Linked DNA regions of Homo sapiens: region 2 is linked to region 1. Evidence: promoter capture Hi-C in 16 types of primary human blood cells and fetal thymus (Javierre and others, 2016). All regions are on one chromosome and are shown on one strand. The core of a region is centred on a gene start or on the middle of the fragment in contact, and the rest is flanking DNA. Distances in the headings are between cores, read along the strand shown. Region 1 holds the start of KCNE3 (potassium voltage-gated channel subfamily E regulatory subunit 3). Region 2 overlaps C2CD3 (C2 domain containing 3 centriole elongation regulator).

Region 1 (6,851 bases), core at 2,284-4,783:
AGGCAGGAGAAGGGAGGAATTAGCATTTATAGATTGGATGCTCAGGGAAGGCCTCACCAAGAAGGTAACATTTAAGCCAAGACTTGTTTGTGGCATGTCTCTAGGTGAGTCTTCCCCTCATCCCTTCAATCAGCTCATCCTACCCTCAAATTCCATCCACCCCACTCCCCCATCTTCCCAGGGTCAGGGCCATGTCTCCAATGTCTTTGGATTAGGGAGCTCCTTGAAGTCCCTGTCAGACTAGAGATCCCCAGAGACAGGAACTCTGTTTCCTCCTGCTCTTTCTCATCCAGTGACAATAGAAGCTGCCATTTATTAAGCCTATGCCTCATGCTAGGCCCGGCTCCAGGCATATTAAACGCATCACTTCATCTAAGCCTGCTGGCAAGGCTCCAGGGCACAGGTGGGGAACATGAGGCAGCTCAGCCCCCTTTCCAATGGCCAGCTGCCTTCCCTGACATGGTTGCTGCCTTATCCTCACCCCAGAGAAGGGGGAGTAGAGGATAGACCTTAAATTCTTTTTTTTTTTTTCTTTGAGACAGAGTCTTGCTCTGTCACCCAGGCTGGAGTGCAGTGGCGCAATCTCAGCTCACTGCAACCTCTGCCTCCCAGGTTCAGGCGATTCTTCTGCCTCAGCTTCCCAAGTAGCTGGGATTACAGGTGCATGCCACCACACCCAGCTAATTTTTTTTTTTTAATCTTTAGTAGAGACGGAGTTTCACCATATTGAGCAAGCTGGTCTTGAACTCCTGACGTCGTGATCCGCCACCTCCCAAAGTGCTGGGATTACAGACGTGAGTCACCACGCCCAGCAAATTTTTTTTTTCTTGAGATAGGGTCTCACTTTGTTGTCTAGGCTGTAGTGAGTGCAGTGGCACAATCTTGGCTCACTGCAGCCTCAACCTCCTGGGCTCAAGCAATCCTCCCACCTCAGCCTCTCAAGTAGCTGGTACTACAGGCACATAGCATCATGCCCAACTAATTTTTTTATTTTTTGTAGAAATGAAGTCCCACTATGTTATCCAGGTTGGTCTTGAACTCCTGAGCTCAAGTGATCCACCCACCTCAGCCTCCCAAAGTGTTGGGATTACAGGCATGAGCCACTGCTCCTGGCCGACCTTAAATTCTTGAAAGACTGTAAAAGGGAACACAGATCAGACTTCTATTTCATGTCTCCAATGGGTGCAAGGACCAAAGGGTAGAAGTCAACAGGAAGCAGTTTTTGTTAAAATGTGAGAACATCCTAACAATCAGAGCTGTCTGGCTGCCTTGCAGGCATTGAGCTCCCTAGAGGTGTGCAAGAGAAGCTGGATAGCCTCATTTCAAAAATGAAATAGAGGCAGAGTGTGGTGGCTCACACCTGTAATCCCAACACTTCGGGAGGCCAAGGCGGGCAGATTACTTGAGGTCAAGTGTTCGAGACCAGCCTGGCTAACATGGCAAAACCCCGTCTCTACTAAAAATACAAAAATTAGCTGGGTGTGGTGGTACACCTGTAATTCCAGCTACTCAGGAGGCTGAGGCACAAGAATTGTTTGAACCTGGGAGGCAGAGTTTGCAGTAAGCTGAGATCACACCACTGCACTCCAGCCTGGGTGATATGTTTCCAAAAATAAAGAAATGGGAGAATCTGTTAGGCTCATGAGGGATTTGACTAGGAAACTCTTGAGAGTTCTTCCAATTTACATTCCAGAACCCTAAGATGATATGATTCTAAGACTTTGGTTCTAAGATTTTATTAGAACAAAAGACAATCCCTATCTTCAAAGAACTCACAACCTAGCAGATGGGGTGGACAAATGGTTACTTTCTATAACTGTCATAGACAGTCCTACAGAGTAAATGCAAGGCCGTGGGCAGGATCTGAGAAAGAACCCTGACCAAGCCAGGACTGCTTCCTCATGGCTAGTCTCAAGAACCATTTGCATCAGAGTCATTTGGAAATCTTGTTTGAAAATGCTGATTTCTAGGCTCTACTCCAGATTTCCTGAATTAGAACCTCTGGAGTGGAGCCCAAAAGTCTACTTAGTAAAACAAGCTCCCCAGGGGATTCTTAGGCAGATTGAAAACTGAGGTTGCAGGATGGGCACAGTGGTTCATGCCTGTAATCCCAGAACTTTGGGAGGTGGAGGTGTGCAGGTCACTTGAGCCCAGGAGTTCGAGATCAGCCTGGGCAACATGGAGTAACCCAATTTCTATAAAATACAAAAATTAGCCAGACATAGTGGTGTGTCCCAGTTACTCAGGAGGTTAAGGGAGGAGGATCACCTGAGCCCAGGAGTTCAAGGCTGCTGTGAGCCATAATCACTCCACTGCACTCCAGCCTGGGTGACACAGTGAGATCCTGTCTAAAGGAAGGAAGGAAGGAAGGAAGGAAGGAAGGAAGGAAGAAAGAAAGGAAGGAAGGAAGGAAACTGAGATTGCATGCTTAGGTGATTAGGATGACTTTTCTGAGAGGTGATCTCCAGACTGAGAAAAAGGAATAGTAGGGTCAAAACAAGGTGGGTACAATATACCCACCTTGTATATTGTATACAATATACAATATACCCACCTTGTAGTAGGTCTTTTTAAAACGATAGCACTTCTTAGATATATTCTGGGATTCTGTAATTGAGAGTATGTGCTTCAGATATCCTGGAGCAGACCTTTGCAAGGGAGTGAAAGAGCTGGCCTGAGGCTGTTATTAATTATTCTGAGGCAGTGAGCTGGTAAAAGGGCACCCCACAGGGTCCCCCGGAGAAATTCTCTGCAACTGTCCCTTCCTCTGCCACTAGCCTCCTGGCTCTTATTCCTCAGCTGCCCCGGCTGCCCCAGTTCTCTGAAGCCTGCAATGTCACCAGCAAGGAAACAACAGTTTGAGTGAGGGCATGGTGGTGGGAAAATAAACTGTTCTGGGACAGAGATGAGTAAGGTGCGGCTGAACACAAGTTGGTCAGGCACTGTCACGAACTTTTGAGGCTTGGTGGAGGAAACATTTGCTGGTGCTACTCAGAGACAGAGGGGTGTGTAGTGGATTTTGGGTCTGGGCTCTGCTACCTGGGCAAATCCCTTCTCCAACTGGGCCTCTGCGTCCTGTGTGGAAAAGAGTTTGTGTAAGAATCATATTATTTTGCTGTTGACCCTTTGGTTTTAATACTTTGGACTCAAAGGTCTCATCTGACCTCAACCATAAGCCTGTGAAGAATGCATGGAGGAACTGTACCAACTTTACAGCCAGGCCAAGGCCCAGTGAGGGGCAGCGACTCGCCCACCACCACACAGCCACACTGGAGCAAAACCGACTCCTGGAGATCGGCCTCATGCTGGGCTTGCTGAGGCCCAGCGGAGCGAGAGGCTTTCGGTCTCTGGTCCAGGAAGCAGGCGCTGCAGGGGACGGAAGGGTCGGAGCCCACAGCCGGGGGAGGCCAAGGAGCTGGGCGGAGGCACTCCAGGCCAGCCCGGGGAGAAGTGGGTGTGCTGGGGCCCGGGCGGGGCAGGGGGAGGGGACGCCCGGGGGAGGGAAAAGGGAGCCGAGCGCGGGTGGGAGCCCAGAGCCAGAGAGCGCGCTGGGCGGTGCTGGGCACCCGCGGAGTGGAACGGGGCTGGTGGAATGCACAGGGTCGCAGCGCTTGGGCCACCCTCGGTCAGAGGGCGCCGTGTCCAGCGAGCAAACGGGCGCCCCGGAGCCTTGCTGAGAGGCAGGTAAGGCACCCACCCAGCTGGGAAGGCTGAGCTGCGGCCTGGGGTGGAAATGAGGGGTCTTCCCGCCTCCCTTCCAAGGGCCACGGCGCGCTCTCCGTGAGACTGTGGAACCGAGGGGGAGTGGGGGAGGGGTGGGCGCTGCAAATACCAAGCTAGTCCTCCCGGATCCTCCCCGATCCTCCCGAGCGCAGTGATCGTGGAGCAGCATGTGGGAGTAGGGAGCTGGGCTCTGCGCGCCCCGTCTGGAAACCGTGGGGACTTGCGCCGTTATTCCCAGCCCTCAAGACGGCCACAAGAAAAGTTCCTCCACACCCACAGACGTGCAAGCGAACACTTGCAGCTGGCAGCCAGTGCACACGCAGAAACGACATTTCAGGACCCAGCACAGTCTCATTTGGCTGGAGCCACCGGCTCTGCGGAGCTGACTTGCCCATTCCCTCTACACCTCACTGTGTCCTTCACCCTGTCTGACCTAGTCCCGGGAAACCTGGTGACTCCCAAAAGCATCTTCTGCTGCCAGTAACATAGGTCGAGGCTGGGAGTCGGGAGACTTGAGTTCTAGTTTACAGGCTGTGTAAACCCGGGCAGTCATCCCTCAGCTCTGCGCCTTGTGCTCGCTTTTCCTGGGCCACCATTTGTAAAACGGGCCTCCTGCTCCTGTTGCCTGCATACCCCATGGGACAGAAGGGGAAAGGGGGATTGGACCTCAGAGTCTCTTATCTCGAAAATAAATGAGTTTAGTTCTTGCGTGAAAGCCCACCAGAGTATCCCTCCTAAAATCCTCTCCACTAATTTGCATATAGGGAAACTGATGCCCCAGGGGAGATGATTTACCTAAGGTTACAACAGAGACCAAACAGAATTAGAACCCAAGTTTCCTCAGTCCTAGCCCAGGGCTCTCTCCACTTCACCTACAAAGGCATGTTGTAAACGTGTGAGCTCCTCCTTATTTCCTTGCATCCGTCCACTTTGTCTGTTCCTGATGGAGGAAGACCCATGCTGGGGGCCTAGAAGCTGCTTTCAGATTTTCTTGACTCCTTGAGATGATAACCATCACCTTCTCCATCCCTCACTCAGTCTATACGTCTCAAAGCACATCCATAAACTTAATGTGCGAGTGCTCAAAATACCTTCTAAGAGGGAAGCAAGACAAGAAACTCCATCTTACTGATGAGGAAAATGAGGCCTAGAGGGATATAGACTTAGAGTGATAAAGTTACTTAACCAAAACGCACGGCTAGACGTGTTGGCCTAGTAGGGGCAGGAACCCAGGTCTCCTGATTCCCCCTCTGATGTGTTCTCCACCAGCTACAGGACTACAGAATGGTACCCCTCAATGATAAGGGACTGCGGGAATGATCATAGAGGGTAGGAAACAGGAAGGCTTCTGGAGAAGGTGAGGTTCCTGGGAATCAAGAAGAATAATAAGAACCTCCTGGCTGCTTCTGAGGCTAGGAGACCTGGAGTGGGAAAGGAGACACAGAGATGGTTGTTCTTGGTAATATGGGGGGAAAGGAAAGATGTGGAGACAGAAAAGGAAAACAGTGTGACCAGCCTGCCTGATAATTATCTTGTATGTTTGCAATTTCTAAAACATTCCCATCTCTTGTCTCCTCTAGTTCTCATGTGTGGTAGGCAGGGCAGGGATCATTATCCCCATCTTATAGATGAGGTTCAGAGGAAGTAAATGCAGTGCTCAAGGACACAGAGCCAAGCATACAGCCAAGATTAGAATCATGAAAGGAACACTTGAACGGCAAGATCACAGGCTGAGGGACTGGGGAGTTGGACTGTGTGTGTGTGTGCAGTGGGTGGGTGTATGTGGCCACACCCTGGGTAGGTACACAGGGAAGAGGGTTGCAAAGCCATTGCTGGTGTTTTGAGGCCAAGAATGTTTGCCCTTTGGATTGAATGGGGTCCAGGTGCAGGGAGCATCTGGGCTTCCAAAGAAGGCTTAGAATTCTTCCTCCTCTGACTCACCCCACCTGACTGAGATGGCTTCTTTTCTTTGAGCCATCCCTTCCCCAGACCAAATGAAATCTGTTTTGCCCTGCCCTGGAGGTTGCTTTTTAAATATTGTAAACTGTTTTCATGAATGTATGTGCGTGTGCCAGAGCGGGGGAATGCTCTTAGAGAAGAGGCATTGATTCATTTATTCTTGAATGCCTGCTAGGTATCAGGGCTGGGAAATAAAGAAATGTATGAGGCACAGGACCCTGCCCTCTTACCTTAAAGCGCACAGTTACACACATACACATACACACACACACATACACACACACACACACACACACAGAGTTTCAGTACAGTATAGTGCTCTAATAAGCCTTCGTGCAAAGCACTTTTGGGAAAAAACAAGAGGGAGAGACTAACTGGCTAGGGAGTGAGGAAGGAGGAGTCCCAGGAGAAGGTCTGCAGAGATGAATTGGAGTTGGGTCTTGAAGGATGAGTAGGAGTTTGCCAGGCAGGTAAAAAGAGGAAGGGCATTCTTGTTTAAGAAAACAGCATGAGCAAAGGCAAGAGATGTGCAAGTGCAAGGAATATTTGGAGAGTGGCCTGTACTTCAGTGTCATGGGTGCAGGCCACTGAAAAGAGCTGTGGGGAGATGAGGCCAGTGTCAGAGTCACATTTCAAGGAGCTTCAGTGGTAATCAGAAGAGTTTAGAGTCTGCCCTACTGGCAGAAGGGAACTTATAGTGGAAAGGTCTGTGGAGGGGAAGTCAAGATACTTGGTTTCTGGCTCCAACTCTGCCACTACTGAGCTGTGAGACCTTAAGCAGGTGATTCCCTTGGGGAGGAGGGTCTATTTTCCCACTGGTTGAATGAGGGGGTTGCACCAACAACATGATCATGAAGATCTCTTCCAGCTCAGATTCTATTCCTTTGTCCTTCCAACTGGATGCTAAGGGCTACTCCTTCAACTCCTCTCCCACTCCACCAGCTCTCCAATCCACAGGAGTGGTAAGACCACCAAGGGGACAGTGGTAAAACTGTGCACCCCAGGAACTGTCTTTGGATCACCTACCTGCTTTATGTGACTTTTTCTACCTACCTCTCTGTACTTCATTTCCAGACACTGAAGACGCTCATTCTGAAAGAGTAGCTGAAACGGAGTGACGGGAAAGAAAGACCCAAGGGTAGAGTTTCACTTTTCCCCAGAGCAACCTG
Region 2 (7,070 bases), core at 4,522-7,021, 450 kb after region 1:
GCAGGTCAGATTTGGGATTTGCCTCTCAGGGCTGGGCCTCTAGTCTAAGTGCCTTGTCCTCACTTCCCCTCTGCTCCTACTTGTGGCTGCTGAGTTTGCTGCTCTCTGTAGTATCAAGGAAGTTCTAGTCCAGGCCAGACTCTGAGAGCCACCCCAGGGAAAGGCAGCCAGCCAAAGGGGTGAAAGTTGAGCAAGGCAGGCAGCTATATTGAGCCCTCACTCGGCCTCTGATGCAGCAATCCATTGGCAGGTCCACCTAGCCAGCCAGACCCAGGCGGCTGTTTACTTTCAGTTTTCAGCTCCTGAGTCAATGTTTATGTCACTTAAAGGGGCTACTGTGGAAAAGAACAGAACTTTAGCCCTCATCCCAGACCAGAGGCTCACTGTTACCAAAGAAGGGGGGAAGACAGTGGGGCGGGGAGAACTTGCCTGGTCTAGCACTGCTTACCTCAGTACAGGAGATCCTGTACCCCAGCTCTACTCAGGACTTTTGGGGCCTGACCCTTTGCCAGGGATGGGGTCTGAGAACAGCAAGGCTTCATTTTGCTCTTGGGTCTGCAGCTGGTATTGGCTCTAGCTCCATCTTAGCCTCTGTGTTTTGTAAGATATTATACCTGGTCAGAACCTCGGCCATATCTGAATTTTATTTGAACCCAGCATAGACCTGGATAAGAAGACCAAACAGAAGTTCTTAGATCCACTTGACAGTGAAGCTAAGACCCAGAGAGACCCAGAGTGAGAAAGCATCTTGGTCTTGAGTGAGTGAGACAGTTAGGTTGGGCCACAGACCAGTGTCCCTTCCACTGCACTCCATTGCCTGTCCTCTGAGAAAGTCCCTCAGATACTTGGAAGCAGGGGTAAGTGGGGGCACCTGTACCCACCAACCCCTGGGAGCATGTGGCCTGTTCGAGGAATCCATCTGGGGGCTGGAGTGAAGAGAACCTAGAACACAGTGGCTGGGATCAGATCATGTTCCAGGCCAAAGAAGAGGGCCAGGCCCTCCTGAGAGAGCTTTTGGAGAAGAGTCTGCATCACAGGGAGCAGACCAGAGAAGGAGCCAAGGGCCGGGATAAGCCCGTGGTTTATAGAGTGCCTCCTCTTGCATTATCTGCTCATCCTGATCCCATTCAGATGCACAAACCAAGGCCCAAAGAGAAGGTGGGTTGCCCAACACCGCTTGGCTAAGAAGTGGTAGAGCCAGGACTAGAACCAGCTCCTTATGCAGGGTTAGCCACTCAATTTGAAGAGCCTCAGGAAGCCCCACATTTTCTTTCCAAACCACTCCTTACACCTTCCACGTGCTCCATTTTCTCCCCAGCAAAGTCTGATCTTTAGCATTGAAGGCTCTTTTAAGACACATCTATTATCAGAGAGGCCTATCATGTTCATGACCTGGGTGTCCAGGTACTCAGAAAGGAACAGGTCCCATGTATGGATGAGGTAGGATTTAATGGGGCAGCCTGAAAGCCCCTGGCCTACTGCCGTGCTTGACACCCGGTCCACAGGAAAGCCAGTTCTGTCCTTCAGCCTAGTACAGTCGTCAAATACCCCATCCCTGTTCCCTGGGAAGGCCCTTACAGATCAGCTCGCTGAAGTCCAAGAAGAATAAGATCAAATTCCCCCCAGACATTCTGGAACTTCCTCAACCAGCATCAACCCCTCTTCTAGTAATAGGTTTGTCTTGGCTGTTCTCCATACCTGCAGCTCAGCCTATCCACCCCCACCACTTTCCTAGCAAAGAAAATTCCTTCCTCACAAAACCTGCACCTCCACGTGGCATACCCTCTCTCTTCATTGTCTGTTCACATTCCACCTTCATGTTTAAGTTCCCGCTCCAGGGACTTCACCCCATGGATGACACCCGCTGTCTAGACTCCAAGGCACCTGCAGCCCCTCCAGCTACGACGATCCTGCTTCCATGTGTGTTCCTCCTGCCTCCCCAGGAAGGTTGATGCCTCCCACAAAGCCCATGTTCTGCTGACAACTTTCTTGTGCCCTCAGGTCTACAGCCAGAAGTGTAGGAGTATTTCAGAGGAATGGATGATACATTTGAGGGTATCCCTGCTCTGGCCAATTTCGCCTCTGGCCAACCCCACCAGGGTTGTGTGTTAGGGTAGCAGTCCTGATGAAGGAAGAATCTTCACTACTAGTCAAGATGGTTTCTAAACCCTATTGAGGTCAACAAAAGCAAAATGCTGCTGAGTGTGAGTTCTCTGTCCTTCCACACCCCGCCCCTGCCCTGTACACAGAGCCAAGCCCTGTCCTTGTCCTTGTTCTGATTCCTGGGCCTGGGCCTTGCAGATAAGGCCCCCTAGGTCATTGGGTTAGGGTATCAGTGCTGGAAGGTTGGTGCCACACACGATTCAGCTCCAGGGCAGATATGGCCCAGCCAGTAGGTGTAGGTCTGTGCTCATGCTGTTCCCTCTAATGAAAGACCTCACCTGACAGCCAGCTTCTGTTGAGACCTTGCCCATCTTGGAGCCCACCTCCTGTGAAGCCGCCCCAGACTTTCTCAGCTGTTACTAATTGCTATTTTCTCAGTGCTCACAAGCTCTAAGCTTCATCTCTGTGATTGTTGGGTAGCTCATTGTCTGTCTTCTCTCTAGCTGAGCAGCCCTATGACAACAGGAACCACGTCTGCCTGTTGTCCATAAGAGTTGATCAAGTTGATTAGATCTTAGGCTCCTGAAAAGTTTGATGAGTCACCAACAGAGGTGTTTTGTTTTGAGACAGGGTCTTCCTCTGTCACCCAGGTTGGAGTGCAGTAGCATGATCATGGCTTACTGCAGCCTTGAATTCTTGGGCTCAAGCGATCCTCCCACCACAGCCTCCTGAGTAGCTGGGACCACAGGTGTGCACCACTACACCCTGCTAATTTTTTTTTTCCTTTTTTTTTTTTTTTGAGACAGGGTTTCCCTATGTTGACCAAGCTGGTCACAAACTCCTAGACTCATGCGATCCCCCTGCCTTGGCCTCCCAAAGTGCTGGGGTTACAGACGTGAGCTACCCAGCCCAACAGAGGTCTTTTTATGGTCATTTCATGAACTGAGGTAGTTGGCCCTTCCAGCCATGGAGAACAAGACTCATCTAAGTCTCTCTAAAACAGAGAAGACATCTCTTCTAGAAAATGGGGAAACAAATGCCTGGTTTTAGGATTTGAGATAGAATACTATGCTCTAAGGCCTGTTTTCCCATCTGGCTCATAAAACAAACATCTCCCTACTTCCCCTTCAGAGTAGCAGAGAAAGAAATGGAAGGTAAGATACAACTGATGACCCAGAAAATCTACCTGCAGTACAGCTGGGGGTCAGGAATGGGACTTGTGTCATCCTAAATCCCAAATAGCTCAGGAAACAGCCATCTTGGATCTTGGGAGTAGAGAAAGATATACACAAGCTTAAAGTGCTACATAGAGCCTGAGAGAGTTTAACTTAACTAAAGACCTGGCATATGGTAGGACAACAACCACTGGTTCTAGAATGAATGAATGAGAAGCTTACTACAAAGAGTCTCCTCCCCACCCAATTTAAACCTGTGGTTACCCTGGCCTGGTCCCACCCACACTGGTCTAGCAGCTCCCAGGCTCCTGTCTTGGAACTGGCCTCGCTGGGATCCCAAGCCTCAGACCCAGGCCGTGCCCTGCAGGAGCACCCAGTGTGGAAGTGGGAGAGCAACAGGCAGAGGCTGGCCACTGGCCTCCCCTGGTCTGAGGCATCATGCAGTGCAGGTGCTTCCTGTATTTTGGAAGGAAGAACTGCAAACACCAGCAAAAAGTGGGTTTCCTTCTTCCCTTCTAGCCTAGACCTGCCTAGAAGGCAGGGAGATAGATCTTCTAGTCTCTGCTGTGCAGCCCAGCCCTAGTATCACTTTGCTCTTGGTTATAAGGAAAGGCTGCCTGTGGGCTCATAGCACTGAGAGCTTCCCAGATTGTAGACATTCCCTTGGCACTTAGAATTCTAGACTGGCAGGGACCCTCAAGGTTTCCCATCCACACTTCTATTTCATGGGTGGGAAACTGACATCCAGGCAGTAGATCAGGGATGCCTGACTCCACTCCCCTTATCTCATTCTGGCAATTCTAATTCTTTAGGCAGATCTCTCTGCCTCCAGGGCTTAACTCTGAGCTGAGAAAGCCTAAAACGGAGTTCTGTTTATTTCTGCGCCCCTCTCAAGTAGGTATTAAAAAAGATTGAAGACATGAAAGAAAGAATAACTGAATGTTACTGATGCCAGAAGCAACTCTCGCTGGGCGCAACTCTCGCTGGGCGCAACTCTCGCTGGGCCTCAGTTTCTCATGAGCAGAACTGCAGGGGGTAGGTGGTCCCAGTCTCTAGGGTCTCCACCAAGCTTCTTCTCAGTGCCCAGGAAGTGGTACAGTGTGCTCTCAATAGTCCTTCAGCTTATGACAGCCTCAGCTCATGGGACTTGATGACAGGGAAGAGCAAGCTGCATGCCATGAAGTCAGCCAGGTTTGCCTGTGGAGGCTGCTCCCATCTCCTTTCAGAACTGCCCCCTCCCCTATCAGGCCCCCACTTCTTCCCCAGGGCCTTGCTCTCAGCCAGCTGTCTGGGATGGCTTTCCTGTATAGCTTTGAGCTCCTTCAGCACAGGAGCCTGACATGGAGTAAGAAAAAAGAAAGAAAAATGAGTTAGAGGAGTCCAGAGGACCATGATACCATAGCCCACAGGTTTAAGTACCTTAAAGGCGGAATTAGTGATGCCCTGTCAGCCAGAGTCAGAGAGATCAAAGTTTGGTAGCCAAGCAGTAGGTAGGTGCTTTATGTCACCTGGCAACTCCAGGAGCTCCAAAGGGCCAAACAGAGAGTGTATTATTCACCGCCATCTCCCTGAGAGTTGGATATGTTCCCAGCATCACACATGGGACTAAACCCAGAGGACAAATGACTTGTCTAAAGCCATGCAACAGGAGAAGGGATGAGGATTCAAACCTATCCTGGAGGTGACGCTGCCTCCTTCTCCAGAGGCACAGAAAGAGTCAGGGCTGGGGTTCACGTCCCAGCTCTGCTACTCAGAGCTGTGGGACCTTGAGTTTATTCCACCTGAATGTAGTTTCCTTATCCACGACATGGGGAGAATGATATACCCCCCATATGGGGTTGAGGTAAGGGTCAAGCAAGATAAGGTACGTAAAGCGCTTTGTAAACCAGGCAGCTCTACATAAATATTAACCAAAGGACCAAAAGATGAGAGAAACCAGCGTCATCCATTGGTGGTGCCATATCCTCAGTGGTAACCTAGCTGACTTCTTCCTCTCCAGGACAAGAGCGAAGCCACCAGGGGAGCTCTCTCCCAAAGGCCTTGTCGCCCCAGACCTAACTCGCTCCCCCTCAACCTGCCTGAGGAAGAAACTCTCAGGATTGCACGGATATTTTCTTCTCAGTACTCCCAGAAAGACTGACGCAGCCTGAGGGGCTGGGGGGAAGGAGACACCTGCCCACCCTCCGTCAGCTTTGTCCAGCTTGCAGGAGGCACCAGGTCTGGCTCCTTCAGGGCTGTCACAGTCCTGAAACCACCACTTGCCTAGGCCACGGATGCCTCAAGAGACCCGGTCAGCCCAGACTGGAGGAGTGCCCCAAACCAGTCCAGTGTCCACTTGCCAGAATTTCAGCTCCTTTTTTCTGTGGTGAGGCAAAGGCTAGAAATAAAATGGAATCCGCGCCCAAGTGGGACCCAAGCAGGCATCTTTCGGTGGAGAAACGCCCCCCAGTGTCCTTGACACAGCTGACTGCTGGCATGAGCCCACCCTCTGCCTGAAGATGCAGGACCATTTTTGCCTTAAAAGTTGGGGAGGAGGGACATGTAGATTGTGTGCATTGTGCATAGTCAAGGAAATCCTAGGGCCACCTCCAGTTCATTTGTGTGGGAACAAGGATATTTTATAGATACAAATTATTTTTATGCTGTGTTGAATTAATCAATTAGGAGAGGAAGGGGAAATCACTTCCTTCAAACTTTTTATCTGATTGTCTAAAATTCTAACCATGCTTTTAACTTATTATTTTTACCCAGCTCTGAAGGTCATTGTTCTTGCCTGTGTTTGAATAAAATCATATTGGTGTTTGTAATCTGTGCACAAGTGTTTCGCTGGAGTGGGGATGCTAGGAATTCGTGTGTGCCCTAACTGCCAGAGAGAAAGATTAACAACCATACACCCCACGCAGACGAAGATCAATCACCATGAGACTTCTGGCTCCTCCAGAATCAGGTTGGTCCAGATGACAGTGACACCCAGTATTTCCTTTGCTGATGCTTGAAATCCATCAGACAAAGCCCCGTGGGGAGGACAAGAAAAGGGCCATGGATGGGTGCAGTGGCTCACACCTGTAATCCAAACACTTTGGGAAGCCGAGGCAGGCAGATCACCTGAGGTCAGGAGTTTGAGACTACCCTGGCCAACCTGGCAAAACCCCGTCTCTACTAAAAAAAAAAAAAATACAAAAATTAGCTGGGCGTGGTGCACGCCTGTAGTCCTAGCTACTCAGGAGGCTGAGGCAGGAGAATCACTTGAACCCAAGAGGTGGAGGTTGCAGTGAACCGAGACCACGCCACTGCACTCCAGCCTGGACAACAGAGCAAGACTCCGTATCACAAAAAAAAAAAAAAAAAATGGGGTCGCGGGAGCCAAATGTGCAGAGTGAGCAGTGTGGCTGGGCAACAGGCTTTCACCCCCAAGTACATGTCACTTCACTCAGTCCTCAAAACAGCTCTCTAACTCTAGATATTATGATATCTAGAGTTTCTGTAAGTTCAGTGTTTTGCCTCTGTTTGTGTAGTTAGGAAGTGATTAACCACACAAGAAATCCCAGAGGTATTGCAAGGCTACTGCTTTCAGTAATCAAAACAAGGTACAGCCAATAAGTGCTCTGAATTTAGGGACTTCATGGAGAAAGACCATGTGGGCTGGGGCAGTCAGGGAAGGCTTCCTAGAAGAGACAGGTCTTGGGGTGAGCACAGAGAATTGGCCCAGGCTGTGGACAGCTATAGAGAGAGAGCCAGGAAAGCCTGTGAGCAGTGTGCAGCTGGAGATAGAGACCAGTCTCACTGCGTCTG

What was found. Contacts are between HindIII fragments. The CHiCAGO score rates a contact against its expected background, and 5 or more counts as called.
Region 2: a contact is called between a fragment that was not itself captured here and the fragment with the promoter of KCNE3 in region 1, in 1 of 17 cell types (megakaryocytes). The highest score is 5.3, in megakaryocytes.

Annotation. Positions count from the first base shown.
Region 1 is chr11:74,464,231-74,471,081 of GRCh38, reverse strand. It overlaps KCNE3 (potassium voltage-gated channel subfamily E regulatory subunit 3), which reads left to right and starts at 3,533. Exons shown (of 3, transcript NM_005472.5): 1 at 3,533-3,684. The HindIII fragment of the contact is 7,698 bases long and covers 1-6,851 here.
Region 2 is chr11:74,011,733-74,018,802 of GRCh38, reverse strand. C2CD3 (C2 domain containing 3 centriole elongation regulator) reads left to right here. Exons shown (of 33, transcript NM_001286577.2): 33 at 5,278-6,085. The coding sequence ends at 5,418. Among named protein-coding and RNA genes, the nearest start is that of UCP3, 6.2 kb to the right of the region's middle. RefSeq lists an enhancer at 6,748-6,897. The HindIII fragment of the contact is 2,844 bases long and covers 4,350-7,070 here.